3 separate regions of the Homo sapiens genome follow, and all the other regions are linked to region 1. The links are contacts of gene promoters, found by promoter capture Hi-C in human tissues and cell types (Jung and others, 2019). All regions are on one chromosome and are shown on one strand. The core of a region is centred on a gene start or on the middle of the fragment in contact, and the rest is flanking DNA. Distances in the headings are between cores, read along the strand shown. Region 1 holds the start of CDC37 (cell division cycle 37, HSP90 cochaperone). Region 2 holds the start of CARM1 (coactivator associated arginine methyltransferase 1). Region 3 overlaps ILF3 (interleukin enhancer binding factor 3).

Region 1 (4,451 bases), core at 694-3,193:
CACCGATGGGGGTGGGATGGGGACCGGGGACAGAGGGACAGTGCAAAGCAACTTAGGGGTCTCTCTCCTCAGTCCCCAGGGCTGGAGGTGCTGTGCTGGCAGATTAGGAAATGCTTGGGGTTGATGGGGAAGCTTCCGGCGCTCTATCCCCAGTTCTGGAAGCTGAGGCTCCGGGAACCCTGTTTTGCTGAAGCTGGGCAGCTCCAGTCTCCAGAGCCAGGAAGAGACCCCCGCGCCTATCCGGGAATCCCCGACATCTGGGATTCTCTCCAAACACCCCCAGGCTGATGACGGGGCCGAATCCCTAAAGGGCATACGGTGGGGGTGGGGGTACGACTTTCCTGGGGAGCCGGGGAACCCCCTACCTTCCTGGCCCCCTCCCACTGTGGCACCGTGTCCCCCTCCCCACCGCAGCTCGCAGCCCCAAGCTTACCTTGCGGGGGGCCTGGGGAGGGGATGCCCCGCCCTCCCTGGCCTGGGGGGCGGGAGGGGACGGGGGTGTCCAGACCCTTTGTTTGCTGGTGTGTGTGTGTATGTGTGTGTGCGATTGTGAGAGCCGCCGGGGTGTGGGTCCGTGCGCGCGCGTGCCCGGGCCGTGACGGCCACTGATGTGCTGGACTGCCAGGGTGGAGGGGAAGAGGGAGGGGTAGGAGATGGGGACTCCCCCGCCCCTGCCCGCCCACTCGCGGGTTTGAATGAAGCGCGAGGGGGAAGGGCGGCAGCGGGAGGACGTTTTTGTCCGATGGCCCTTCCCGCTCCATGCACCGGGGAATCCTCCCCCTTCTGGAGAACTTCGCTCGCTCTCTCCAGGCACTGCCTCCAACGTCGGCTCCAGGGGAGACTAGGAAGAGGCGCCCCTCACCGGAGTGGCTGGAGCTCCTCCTATCCAGCCTGACCCCCGAGGGAGCACCCTTTAATCTGAGATAATCCTGGCCCAAGGCTGCAACACGGCCTATTATCCTGGTATCAAAGCGTGGATTGGGATGCATGGAAGTGTGAGGTGGTCGAGGCCCTGCATGCTTAGAGTAATGGAGTCCTTAGAGCCCCGGCGGAGGAAGCGTACCCCAAGACGAACGGGGAGGGGCTATGCGTGGCCCCAGACTGTGACGACAAGGAAAGCCCCCTTCCACCCCTCCACGATTCCCCCCACCAAGCGCGGGGCCAGGAATACGCGCCGTGGGCTAGACTCTAGCGACACCCAGCGGCCAGCGGGGTGGGGAGCCGAGACCCGTTTTGAGGGGGTCCGGGTGATTCCAAAGTGTGTGTGTGTGTGTGTGTGCGTGTGTGTGTGTGTGTGTGTGTGTGTGCGCGCGCGCGCTCGCGCGAGTCCTCGCTGCGAATGGCAGGAGGTGGAAGACAAGGAGAAGGCTGTTGCCGAGGCGGGGAAACCCCAGCTCCCAAGGCAGGGCCACAGTCTCCCCTCCACGTTTAACCCTGCAAGGGGAGGGCCATACCACCCCCGATTTAGACACCCCCAGGGCAGGTCCAGTCCTCCTCGGGCTGAGAAAGTCCGAGGAGTCATCAGGCGCCCCTCTCCAGCGCAGGCTTAGGTCCCCGTTTACGAAGGGCAGGGGGAGGGCCTTCCCGCCGTGTCCCTACCCCTTGCAGACGTCACTGCGGCGTGGCTGAGGGGACAGTCCTCTCAGTCTCATCAACCGTCCCCTCCCTGCCACCCCAAACGCCCACCGTGGAGCGGCGGGAGATGAGGGGGGCTCGGAGTTGAAGCGCGCACTCATATGCCCCCAGGAGACCTAGCGGAGCCCCAGCGCCCGATGACGCGGAGTCTCTGCGGGAACTCCAGGGGGCCGGAACACTTACGCAGGGCCCTTTAAGGCTGGCTGGGTAGCTAGTGCCGCTGCCGCGGTTACTAGGGATGTGACGTCACACAGGGCGGGGTTTCCCGCGCTCGGCGGAAGCGGAAGGGGCGGGGCTCCGCGCTCCTAGTCTCCACTGCTGCCGCCGTCGCCGCCACCCGAGCCGGAGCGGGCTGGGCCGCCAAGGCAAGATGGTGGACTACAGCGTGTGGGACCACATTGAGGTGTCTGATGATGAAGACGAGACGCACCCCAACATCGACACGGCCAGTCTCTTCCGCTGGCGGCATCAGGTAAGGCGCGCGCGCCCATCCCTTTCCCCACTCCCGGACCCCGCTTCGGAGTTGTGATCCCCGATACTGCCCAGGGACCCCGCTGTTCACACCTAGGATTCTCACCCCCCCAGTCTGGATTTTCAGGAGCTTCGATTCAACTCCGGGACCCCAGTACCATTGGGACCCTGAGTCCCTGCCCTGGATCTCCGCTCCCCCACTCCCTGCTCCGATTTTTGCGTGGGATTCCCTATTCACCCCCTAGAACTTCTTCATAGTCTGGAGTCCCCTAGACGAGTCTTGGGGGTTCTCCCTAATTCTGTTCGGCAGTTAACATTTATACCCAGAACTCTGCCTCAAAGTTTGGACCCCAAATTCTTCTAGATGATCCCTCATCCTATTCGGGTATTCACTTCCTATCTGGGATCTCCCATCGCCCCCCCACCTCCGTAGTCTGGACCCCCAATACTTTGGTCTGTCCCGGGATCTACTTTCCGGGATCTTGATCCGGGGTTCCCATTCAGATCCGGAGTCGCCACTCCTTTTCTAAACGGAACAAGGAACTCTGTGCTACTCTGATATTCCTGTCCCTGCCCACACCCAGGACCCCCTTCCTAGAGTGTAGAACCGTCCCCCTTCAGGATCCTTAGTCTCACCGAGTACTTGGGTTTTGGAATCTGGTTCCCCTCTGGATCTAACTACCAGCTCCAACCCGATAGAGCCTCACATTCCAGCCTCTCCTTTGGCCTCCGGTAGACCCATTTCCCATTATACCAGGAAATCCTGCCCACGTGGCTTCCGGCCTAGCCAGAGCCCCTGCTCCTACTTGGTATTGCAGACCCTGTCACCACCCACTTCCCAGACTGGCTTCCTGTATGAGCCTCAGCCAGCATTGGAAACTCTCCCCTAACTCAAGCCCAGAACCCCAAACCCACCCCACCTTTTGTCCCCAGCCTGTTAGCTACTCTGTGACCCAAATTGTCCCTGCTCTTATCCAGGGACTCTCCTGGTCTGATTCTAAATTCACCACCCCTTCTTCTATCTGACCACAACAGAGGTCCCGAATCCAGACCCCAGAATCCCAAGCCTGGGTGATCCATGTCCCACCACCCTCTCAGTGCTCACGAGCCAATGGGATGACTAAGACTTAAAGGTTTAACCTCCTGCTACCCCAAATGAGTGTGCCTGCATTACATACCAGTGTCTGTTGTATTCCTTTTTTTTTTTTTTTTTTTTTTTTTGAGACGAAGTTTCCTTCTTGTCGCCCAGGCTGGAGTGCAGTGGCACAATCTTGGCTCACTGCAACCTCTGCCTCCCGGGTTCAAGTGATTCTCCTGCCTCAGCCTCCTGAGTAGCTGGGATTACAGGCATGATGCACCACCATGCCTGGCTAATTTTGTATTTTTGGTAGAGACAGGGTTTCTCCATGTTGGTCAGGCTGGTCTTGAACTTCCGACCTCAGTTGATCCACCCACCTCGGCCTCCCAAAGTGCTGGGATTACAGGCGTGAGCCACCGCACCCAGCCATGTTGTGCTCTTAAACGAAGGGCATATACCTCTCAGAACCTTCTAGTGAGGATCTCTTACCCCACCCTCCCATAGGGCAATTCCCCATCATTTATCCAGAAACAACTAGAAGGTCCCTTTCCCATCCTTCCAGAATACTCTGGAATACGGCATTAGTCTCTTCATCTAGCTCCCAGTCCCACTTCCAGACCTATTCCTTAAATCCTGAGTCTCCTGGGTAGTGTACCTGCCAAGCAAGCCACTGGAGTGTGGGAAGAAAGTTCTAGCGCTTCTATTTCTTGCCGTGTGTAACATTTTATTATGAAATATTTAAGACTTCCTCAAAGCTCCAAAGACTATTCTTGGGAAGACCTATTTCTGTCACATAAAGAGGTTAATCTTTACTACTGTGGAGAATGGTTTGGTCCTGCCGGGTGGGAGGGCCCCCCTCCTGCAGCGTAGTGTACCTGCCACACCCTCCTCCCTCTGGCACAGAGCTTTTCCTGTCCTGCCGCTGAGAACCCCGGTGGTTGTAGTGGCATGTAAGGGAGGCAGGGGGCTTCAGCGTCTCCAGCACAGGTTCAAGGACAGGCAAGCTTGGGTTCCAATCCTAGCCCCACCTCTTGCTGCTTCTTTCTTTCTTTGATGTGGCAAGACTCACAAGAAGCCTCCCTGAGCCCATGTGAAACCTGGGATAATATGGCCCCACCTCCCTGAGACCTTTGTAAGAATGAATTAAGACTGGGTCAGGAAAACTTGGGGCAGGTTTGGAAGGAAGCATTGTGGAGGGGAAGGAGAGATTGCTGTCGTTCAGAGCACAGGCCTGACTAGGTTCAAATCTCAGCTCTGTCTGTATCAC
Region 2 (4,451 bases), core at 932-3,431, 470 kb before region 1:
CAGGTGGCAGAGCTTGCAGTGAGCCGAGATTGAGCCACTGCACTTCAGCCTGGGGGACCGAGCAAGACTCTGTCTCAAAAAAAAAAAAAAAAAAAAAAAAAAAAAAAAACTAAACTAAAATTGTTCTAAAAAAAATTTTTTTTTTGAGATGGAGTCTCACTCTGTCTCCCCGGCTGGAGTGCAATGGCACGATCTCAGCTCATTGCAACCTCTGCCTCCCAGGTTCAAGTGATTCTCCTGCCTCTGCCTCCCGAGTAGCTGGGACAGGCACATGTCACCACACCCCGCTGTTTTGTATTTTTAGTAGAGACGGGGTTTCACCATGTTGGCCAGGCTGGTCTCGAACTCCTGACCTCAAGTGATCCTCCCAAAGTGCTTAGCCTCCCAAAGTGCTGAGCTACCCCGCCTGGTCCTAAAAAAATTTTTTAAAGGTTTACTTAAAAATGATAGCCAACTCTCCTGGAACTCCTTTGAGGATAAGCCCTGGGACCCTAGTTTTGGAAACGCTGCCCCGCTTTGTTCTGTTCAGGACAAAGTTGGCTACCAATGCTTGCCCAGTGAATAGGTTTTGCTTATGATCTGGGGTTCTGTTGAGCTGAGTGTCTGCCTTGAACTCTGAAACCCCCGCTGAAATACCCTCCTTCCCCTCTCATCTGGTCCAAGAAGACCCAGGCTCTGCACCAGCAAAAAGAGACGGCACCCTCGGACAGCAGACACAACTCCTTTAGTCCACGTTTTCAAAGTCGAGGTGCAGGGAAAACCCAGTGTGAACGGACTGCTCCTCGGGCTTTCCTTTAATCGGGCCGTTTCCAAAGTGGCAAAAAATTCACACAGGACCCAAGCTAGCTAGAGGCCTCCTGAGGGGTTCCCCAGGGCATCAGTGCAAGAAGCCCTGAAAGACAAAGCCAAATGACACAGAGTAGCAAAATGTGAACAAGGAATCAAAGAGAAGAGATAAGAAGGAGTAACAAGAAGAAGAATGAACTACAAAGACTGGGAGCGGGGGTGGGGGGTGCTGGCAAACGCATTTGTGATTTTCTTTTCCCCCCAGTGAAATGTCAGTTTTGAAAGCAGCTTCGGAAAATGTAACCAGCTTCTCACATCCCCCAAAAGAAGATGGGAGGAGGCTGTTAGCTCTTACTTCGAAGCCCGGCATCAGGAAGGGGCCCGTCCCGTCCACGTTTCCACGAGGAGCTCACCCTGCGGCTCCCACCGTCCCCGCATGGGCCCTCTCCCCAGATCCTGAAGTTTCCCATTCGGGGGTCCTGAACGCCACACCTCGCACAGCGGTGGAACTCGGTACTCGCGGGCGCCCCAGACCAGCAAACACTTTCCAACCGTCCTGAGCTATCCAGGGGGTCCCCAGAGGGATCCCGGGCCGCCCACGCCCCACCCTCCTCCCTGCAGAGGCGGCCACGCCCGCCCCCGAGACGCCCACCTCTCCCGCACCCCGGACCTCCCTCCCCCACGCTTAAGCCCACCACGCCTGGCGTCCTCCAAATTCCCCTTCCACTCAGAGCCCCCCACTTCCTGCTCACCCACCCCTCCCAAATCTCAGGCCCTTCACTCCCCATTTCGCGCTCCCTTGCTCACTCTGGGCACCTTGCCCCTCCGGCCACCACGCACGCCCTCTTTTCTCTGTCTGTCCCCTGGCACCGGCCCTCCACGGTCGCTCCCTGCAGGCCACCGGCTCAGTCCCGGGGACCCCACGCCAGGCCCCCGCGCTCAGGGCCCCTCCCCGCCGGCCCCCGCCCCGGGCCGGCCTCGTGAGCAGCCCCGGCCCTGCGCCTGCCCCGGGGCCCCGTACTCACGGCTGTAGAGGGCGATGCCCGCCGAGTCCGGGCCGGCGCGCACCTCGAGGCGCAGCGCCTGCTGCTCCGCGTGCCGCTGGATCTCGCCGTTCGCGTCGCCGATGGTGAGGAGGCGGGCGCCGGGGAACACCGACACGGTAGCGCAGGGCCCCGCGCCGCCCGGGACCGCCGACCCCGCGCCGCCCGCGCCCGGCCCCACCGCCGCCGCCGCCGCTGCCATCTTAGATCCGGCTCCAGGCCCCGCCGCCGCCGCCGCTGCGCCCGGGCCCAGGCCGCCGCCGCTGCCGCCGCCGCCGCCGCCGCCGCCGCCGCCGCCGCCGCCGCCGCCGCCGCTGCCGCTACCGCCGCCGCAGCCGCCGTGCAGGCCGAGGCCGAGCCGGGCAGCGCCGCCTGCCGGCCACGCGCCGCCTCGCCGCCGCCGCCGCCACCGTCGCCGCGGCCCGGCCCCGTGGCGCAGCGCCCTCTGCCGGCCGTCCTGGGCGCGGGGAGCTAGCGAGCGAACGAGAGGGCACCCCGTGGGGCGGGACCGGCTACGCCCCGCCCCGCGAGAACGGTCGCCGCTTTGTGAGGTGGCTCCACCGCCCGGGAACTGCGGGGCGGGAGGGTACGTCGGGGGCGGTGCTCGGGCGCGCGGGCACGCCCCTCGGAGGCCTGGGCCCCGCCCCCAGGCCGGCGCCTCATTAACGGCTGCTTTCGAGTGAGGCGGTGCGGGGACGGCGGGGGCGGTGCTCGGCCGCGTGGACACGCCCTGTACCCCGCCCCACACAAGCAGCCGCGCGTCGTGATGCGGCTTCCCTGCCCCGACCTGGACACGCCCCTGAGACTGGGCCCCACCCCCCCGGGCCCGCCCGGCTTTGTGAGGCAGCCCTCAGGGAGGCGTGGCCCAGCCGCGACGAGGCCCCGCCCCCGTGCCTGCCCGCGCCCTCCCACCCGGACTCGCTTTGTCAGCCGCCCCGCTCTGGGGAATGGGCGGGGGAAAGGGCGTGGCCAGCGCCCGGGCCTCGCCCCCAACCCTTCCCCCCACCGCCCCCGCACCGACGATTTCCGATGAGCCCTGGCCTCCAGGAGCAACCTGAGCCCGGTTGAAAGGACCCCTCCCCGACATTCGACCGCTCCTCCTCCCTTCCCCATCATCTCTGCCCACATTGCCTTCTTAATCCTTAATGTTTGACTGTCTCCTTTCGCACAAGATATCCTTTGACCCCCTCCTCTCTCAGCCCCTCCTCCAACGATGCTGAGTCCAGCCTGGCCCGGCGCAGGGCCCCTCTCCCGCCACACAAACCCGTCTTCTCTCTGCATCCCCCTTCATTTTGGGTGGCCCCATCTCTTTTGGGCGACCCAGTGAGCTTGGGCCACTTCCTAGCACTCCAGCTTTAACTCTTCCCTAGACCTCATTTACGCCTCATTCCTTTTTTTTTTTTTTTTTTTTCTTTGAGACGGAGTCTCGCTCTGTCTCCCAGGCTGGAGTGCAATGGCTCGATCTCAGCTCACCGCAACCTCCGCCTCCCGGGTTCAAGTGATTCTCCTGCCTCAGCCTCCCGAGTAGCTGGGACTACAGGCATGCTCTACCACGCCCAGCTAATTTTTTATTTTTAGTAGAGACGAGGTTTCACCATGTTGGTCAGGCTGGTCTTGAACTCCTGACTTCAGGTGATCCGCCCGCCTCGGCATCCCAAAGTGCTGGGCCTACAGGCATGAGCCACCGCGCCCGGCCCCTTTTGTTTTTTGAGACAGGGTCTCACTGTGTTGCCCAGGCTAGAGTGCAGTGGTGCCATCATAGCTTACTGCAGCCTCAACCTCCTGGGCTCAAGCAACCCCCTGCCTCGGCCTCCCAAAGTGCTGGGATTATAGGTGTGAGCCACTGCGAGGGGCCCTCATTCTCCTTCATGTCCCTCACCCGTAGCCCCTGTCATTCCACCTCCTAAACCCTCTAATGCAAGTACCGTTGCAGAGACCCTGGCATGGCACTGCTGCACTCCCCACACCCCCAGGAGGCTCCGCATACACCACCCTGACTGCCCTTGAGAGATGCTTCAAATTTGGTGAATTCAGACACGCTCCACCCCCCAGCCATCCAACCATGGGATCCAGAGGTCCCCAGCTTGAAGGATTCCACTCCATAGAGGCCTGGGAACACCTTGACCCGTGTTATAATTAATAACTTAAGCAAGCCAGCAGGCAGACACACAACACACCCAAGGGCACCCTATGCTCAAAAACCCACTGGGGAAGGGAGGAATTCCACGGGTGTGCAGAGACCTGGGACGTCTTATGGCCCAGCTGGGGGACAAGAAGGGGTCCTGACATCTCCTTCTCTGGTGGTCCTGAGGAGCCGAAGGTCGAGAGGGGAACTTCCTGTTGTCTGTATAGTGCCAGGCCCATGCCTGTGTCCCCTCTCCCACTCCTCTGTGATGAAAATCCCAAGGCCAGGGTTCCCCTTCCTTTCCTCTGTCCAATTCCCTGAGAAAGTGGCTGACAGAGCCCCCCCAGAAGTAGCTGGAGGGACCTCAGGCCCCCGAATGCCTGGAGACAGAGGGGTCCCCCAGTCCTCAGCCTCACTGGCAGGCCCGGAAAGTGCTGAATTCGGGGGTCTCAGGCGAGGAGGACGTGGAAGTGGGCCTCTTCCGGGTCCTGGAGTTG
Region 3 (4,451 bases), core at 807-3,306, 290 kb before region 1:
AAAAATAAAATTATATACATACATACATATAGAGAGAGGTCAATGTGTTCAGTAGGACAGGATAGTCAGGGCTGGGCTCACTGAGACGGTGGGATTTGAGCCTGAAAGGAGGATGGAGGAGTCATGCGGAATCGGAGAGAGCACTCCAGGCCTCGTGAACAGTTAAGAGCAAAGGCCTGGAGGTGGGAATGTGTCTGGATTGTCTGTTGTGAGCGCGGAGGTCAGTGTGGCTGGAGGTGAGCGGATGAGGGTGTGGAGGTGACGGCATGAAATCGCGGGAAGCCTTGGGCTTTCCTCTGAGCTGGATGGGACGGTAGGGCTTTCTCAGCCAACGTGGAGGGAAGTGGGCTCTACCTATTACCAAGAGATAAACTGGGGATAGGGCGCAAAGGAGGCTTAGTGGTCCCTGCTTTAGGGTGTTGGCACCGCCCACTTAGGAGAGCTGGGGGCGCCGTGAGCCTGCAGCTAGAGGCGGCGCTTGGTGTGCGGCTTCAGCACAGTGGACAGCGCCGTACGCGTTGCCTGGAGACCAGGAAAGCGGCCGCTCAGGGAGCGGAGCCTGCGCAAGCGCCCTATGAGGAGCGGCGCGCTCCACGCAGTGGCACACTCTGTGGGGGCGGGGCCTGCGAGTCCGGCCAATTAGAAGAGTTTGTTGCCGGGCGTGGTGGCGCTTGCCTGTAATCCCAGCTACTCAGGAGGCTAAGGCGGGAGAATTGTTTGAACCAGGGAATCAGAGGTTGCAGTGAGTGAGCGGAGATCGCGCCACTGCACTCCAGCCTGGGCGACAGCGAGACTCCGTCTCCAAAAAAAAATTTTGTTGACAACCCCAGGACGAAGAGAGTTTATACACAGGGCAGGGCCTGCGAAATCCCATCTGGAGTTGGAGCTTGTTGATTGCGCAAAGGAAGGAAGGAAGGGGCGGTGGGCACCCGGAGCCTAGAGACCGGCGGGAAGTTTGGAAGCGGTGGTTTGCAGCAGCTAGGCCTGGGGCGGTTTCCGCGCTCTTCACATGGAGGCTTGCGCAGCACCCAGGGTCGTGACTGGGGCTGTCAGATCCCGAAACTTGCCTTCTCTGGGATCGCCCGCGACTGCTCAGGGGAGCCCCCAAACAGGGGACTATATGGTTGGCCTTAGGGAGCGGGTGCTGAGGTCCTGGGTCCAGGATACGGACTTCTGAGCACTGACTGAGGAATACAGAACATTCAGGAGAGGAGAGTTAGGGGTTTTGCTGAAATAATGGTCCTTGGAGCCCTGAGTTCGGGTGGTCGTCTCGATAGCCTGGAGGATTTCTCCAGTTTATTCATCGGACGTGTGGGGACCGTCCCTCTGTGACATTGCCACCCACCTACTGCCCTGTTGCCAAGCAAGAAGACCTTAGGCGCCAGATCTTTTGAGAAGACAAAAGCACTGGCCCAAGACCTGGGAGTTCATGGACTTCTTGGCTACTCCGTGGAGAGAATGCTGGTCTCCCTGAGAATGAGAAGGACGGGCCCCTTTTCTTTGACATACCGTTTTTAACCCTCTTGAGTCTAGAAACTCTTCCCTTATCAAGACCAGTGGACTCAGCTGCAAAAATCACTGTAAACCTCAGCTCCGATGTTCCAAAAGTCAAGCCTCTTGTCGTCTCCAGGGCCCCCATTCTCACCTCTCCCATACACCTACTCAGCTCAGCAACCAAAAGAACTGTACTGAGGCGCGGTGGCTCACAATGGTTAATTCCAACAGTTCGTGAGGCTGAAGAGGGGATGGCTTGAGGCCAAGAATTGGACATCAACCTGAGACCCTGCCCCTATGAAGAAAAACAAACATTAGCCAGGCAGTGAGGCCTGTAGTCCTAGATACTCAGGAGGATGAGTGAGCCATGATGGCACCACTGCATACCAGACCGAGACCCTGTCTAAAAAATAGTTTCAGCTGGGAGCGGTGGCTCACGCCTGCAATCCCAACAATTTGGGAGGCTGAGGCAGGCGAATCACAAGGTCAAGAGTTCAAGACCAGCCTGGCCAACATGGTGAAACCCCATCTCTACTAAAAATCCAAAAATTAGCCAGGCATAATGCTGGGCACCTGTAATCTCAGCTACTCGGGAGGATGAGGCAGGAGAGTAACTTGAACCCGGGATGCGGAGGTTGCAGTGGGCCGAGATCACTCCAGTGCACTCCAGCCTGGGCAACAGAGCGAGAGACTATCTCAAAAACAAAACAAAACAAACAAAAAAACTGTAGGCCAGGCGCCGTGTGGCTCACGCCTGTAATACCAGCACTTTGGGAGGCCAAGACGAGTGGATCACGAGGTCAAGAGTTTGAGACCAGCCTGGCCAGCAAGGTGGAACTAAAATACAAAAATACTAAATACTAAATACTAAAAATACTAAATACTAAAAATACAAAAAATTGGCTGGGCGCGGTGGCTCACTCCTGCAATCCCAGCACTTTGGGAGGCCGAGGCAGGCGGATCATGAGGTCAGGAGATCGAGACCATCCTGGCTAACACGTGAAACCCCGTCTCTACTAAAAATACAATTAGCCGGACGTGGTGACAGGCACCTGTAGTCCCAGCTAATCGGAAGGCTGAGGCAGGAGAATGGCGTGAACCCGGGAGACGGAGCTTGCAGTGAGCGGTATCATGCCACTGCACTCCAGTCTGGGCGACAGTGAGACTCCGTCTCAAAAAAAAAAAAAGCCGGACATGGTGGTGCATACCTGTAATCCCAGCTACTAGGGAGGTTGAGTCAGGACAATCACTTGAACCCAGAAAGCGGAGGTTGCAGTAAGCGGAGATCATGCCACTGCACTCTAGCCTGGGTGATAGGGCAAGACTCTGTCTCAAACAAAAGTTAGCTGGGCATGGTGTCACACACCTGTAGTTACCGCTTCTCGGGAGGCTGAGGCAGGAGAATTGCTTGAACCTGGGAAGCGGAGGTTGCAGTGCGCCGAGATTGCTCCACTGCACTCCAGCCTGGCGACAGAGCAAGACTCCATCTTAAAAAATAAACAGCCAGGTGCGGTGGCTCACACCTGTCATCCCAGCACTGGGAGGCCGAGGCAGATGGATCACCTGAGGCCGGGAGTTCGAGACCAGCCTAACATGGAGAAAACTTGTCTCTACCAAAAATACAAAATTAGCCAGGCTTGGTGGCACATGCCTGTAATTCCAGCTACTGAGGAGGCTGAGGCAGGAGACTCGCTTGAACCCGGGAGACGGAGGTTGTGGTTAGCAGAGATCGTGCCATTGCACTCCAGCCTAGGCAACAGGAGCGAAACTCCATCTCTAAATAAGTAAAATAAATAAACAAATATATACTCTTGGGAGCCTGAATGGGCCTGAAGTCTTCCCAGGTCAGAATCCATCCATGGCTCCCCACTGTCCTTAGAAAGAAGGCAAGAACTCCTGTGCCTGGCACTCCACTTGGGGGCCCTCAAGATCCCACTGACCTCCAGCCTCATTTCCCAGCATTCCTTTGTTTTGCATCAAAATGCTCTACCCACCTGACTTCAGCTTCTTGAAGCCCATCCTCATCCCCCAGCTGAATTTTTGCTCAAGCTATTCCCTCTGCCTGGCCTCCCCTTCCCTTCCTAACACTCTTGGGTCCAACTCACCCATCCTCTCACCTGAGGGGAAAGCCTTGACAGGCACTTCCTGTCCCACTGTGACACAGCCCTCTTTGTGCCTGGAAGCTACATGTGGGTTGGGAGCAGGTTCACCATTTCGTTCCCAGCAACCAGCACCAGACTTGACATGTAATCACTGTGCAATAATAAACACGACAGCAGGGCACAGTGGCGCTGCCTGTCATCCCAGCTACTATAGGGAAGCTGAGTTGCTTAAGGCCAGGAGTTCAAGACTAGGCTTGGCGACCCACCTCTACAAGAAAATTAGTCAGTCATGGAGGCACAGCCCTGTGGTCCCAGCTACTCCAGAGGCTGTGACGGGAGGATCGCTTGAGCTCTCGGGTTCAAGACTGCAGTGAGCTACGATGATACCACTGCACTTCAGCTTGGATGACAGAGCAATATCCTGTCTCTCTTAAAAAATGAACGAACGCATGTTGAGTGAATGAAACAATGAACACATGAAGTCTCCATTTATTCTGGGATGGGTTAGAGTAAGCCTCTGAGGCTGCCATCAGGCTGGCTGAGTTGTTGCCCAACATTGTATCCAGCAGTCTCAGGCCCGCGCAGTGCACAGCCAGCATGGGGCTCACAGGTGCAGATGGAATCCAGAAGCTCCCAACTATGCTGCAAAGGCCAGGCCTAGGGGTCCGGGTACATGCAGTGAGTCCTTGGGGCAGGGCCAGCCCTGCTGACTACACAAGCAAGGTTGGTGGTGAGACAAGGGGTGTATGTTTCCCTGCCAGGACAGAGGGCAACACACAGGTGGGTGGCGACCCTCAAGGCTGACGGCATCCCTGCCCAGAGTGACGACCAGGGCCTACTAGCTCTACTAAATTC

The links. The method cuts DNA at HindIII sites, captures the fragments that hold promoters and counts their contacts. A contact is called where the count stands out against the background at its distance.
Region 2: the fragment with the promoter of CARM1 here is called in contact with the fragment with the promoter of CDC37 in region 1 in 2 of the 25 tissues and cell types used here (adrenal gland and spleen).
Region 3: a contact is called between a fragment that was not itself captured here and the fragment with the promoter of CDC37 in region 1, in 1 of the 25 tissues and cell types used here (spleen).

Annotation. Positions count from the first base shown.
Region 1 is chr19:10,401,034-10,405,484 of GRCh38, reverse strand. It overlaps CDC37 (cell division cycle 37, HSP90 cochaperone), which reads left to right and starts at 1,943. Exons shown (of 8, transcript NM_007065.4): 1 at 1,943-2,107. The coding sequence starts at 2,006. It overlaps MIR1181 (microRNA 1181), which reads left to right and starts at 1,947; the gene lies at 1,947-2,027. RefSeq lists silencers at 408-457, 2,168-2,227 and an enhancer at 1,418-1,767. The HindIII fragment of the contact is 39,094 bases long and covers 1-2,308 here.
Region 2 is chr19:10,869,283-10,873,733 of GRCh38, reverse strand. It overlaps CARM1 (coactivator associated arginine methyltransferase 1), which reads right to left and starts at 2,181. Exons shown (of 16, transcript NM_199141.2): 1 at 1,812-2,181. The coding sequence starts at 2,031. C19orf38 (chromosome 19 open reading frame 38) reads right to left here. Exons shown (of 7, transcript NM_001136482.3): 7 at 3,944-4,451. The coding sequence ends at 4,367. RefSeq lists enhancers at 1-91, 732-911 and silencers at 1,652-1,861, 1,952-2,001, 2,132-2,921. The HindIII fragment of the contact is 23,799 bases long and covers 1-4,451 here.
Region 3 is chr19:10,692,017-10,696,467 of GRCh38, reverse strand. It overlaps ILF3 (interleukin enhancer binding factor 3), which reads right to left. Exons shown (of 20, transcript NM_017620.3): 20 at 4,068-4,451. Among named protein-coding and RNA genes, the nearest start is that of QTRT1, 7.2 kb to the left of the region's middle. RefSeq lists a silencer at 406-665 and enhancers at 622-1,121, 3,818-4,451. The HindIII fragment of the contact is 7,533 bases long and covers 1-4,451 here.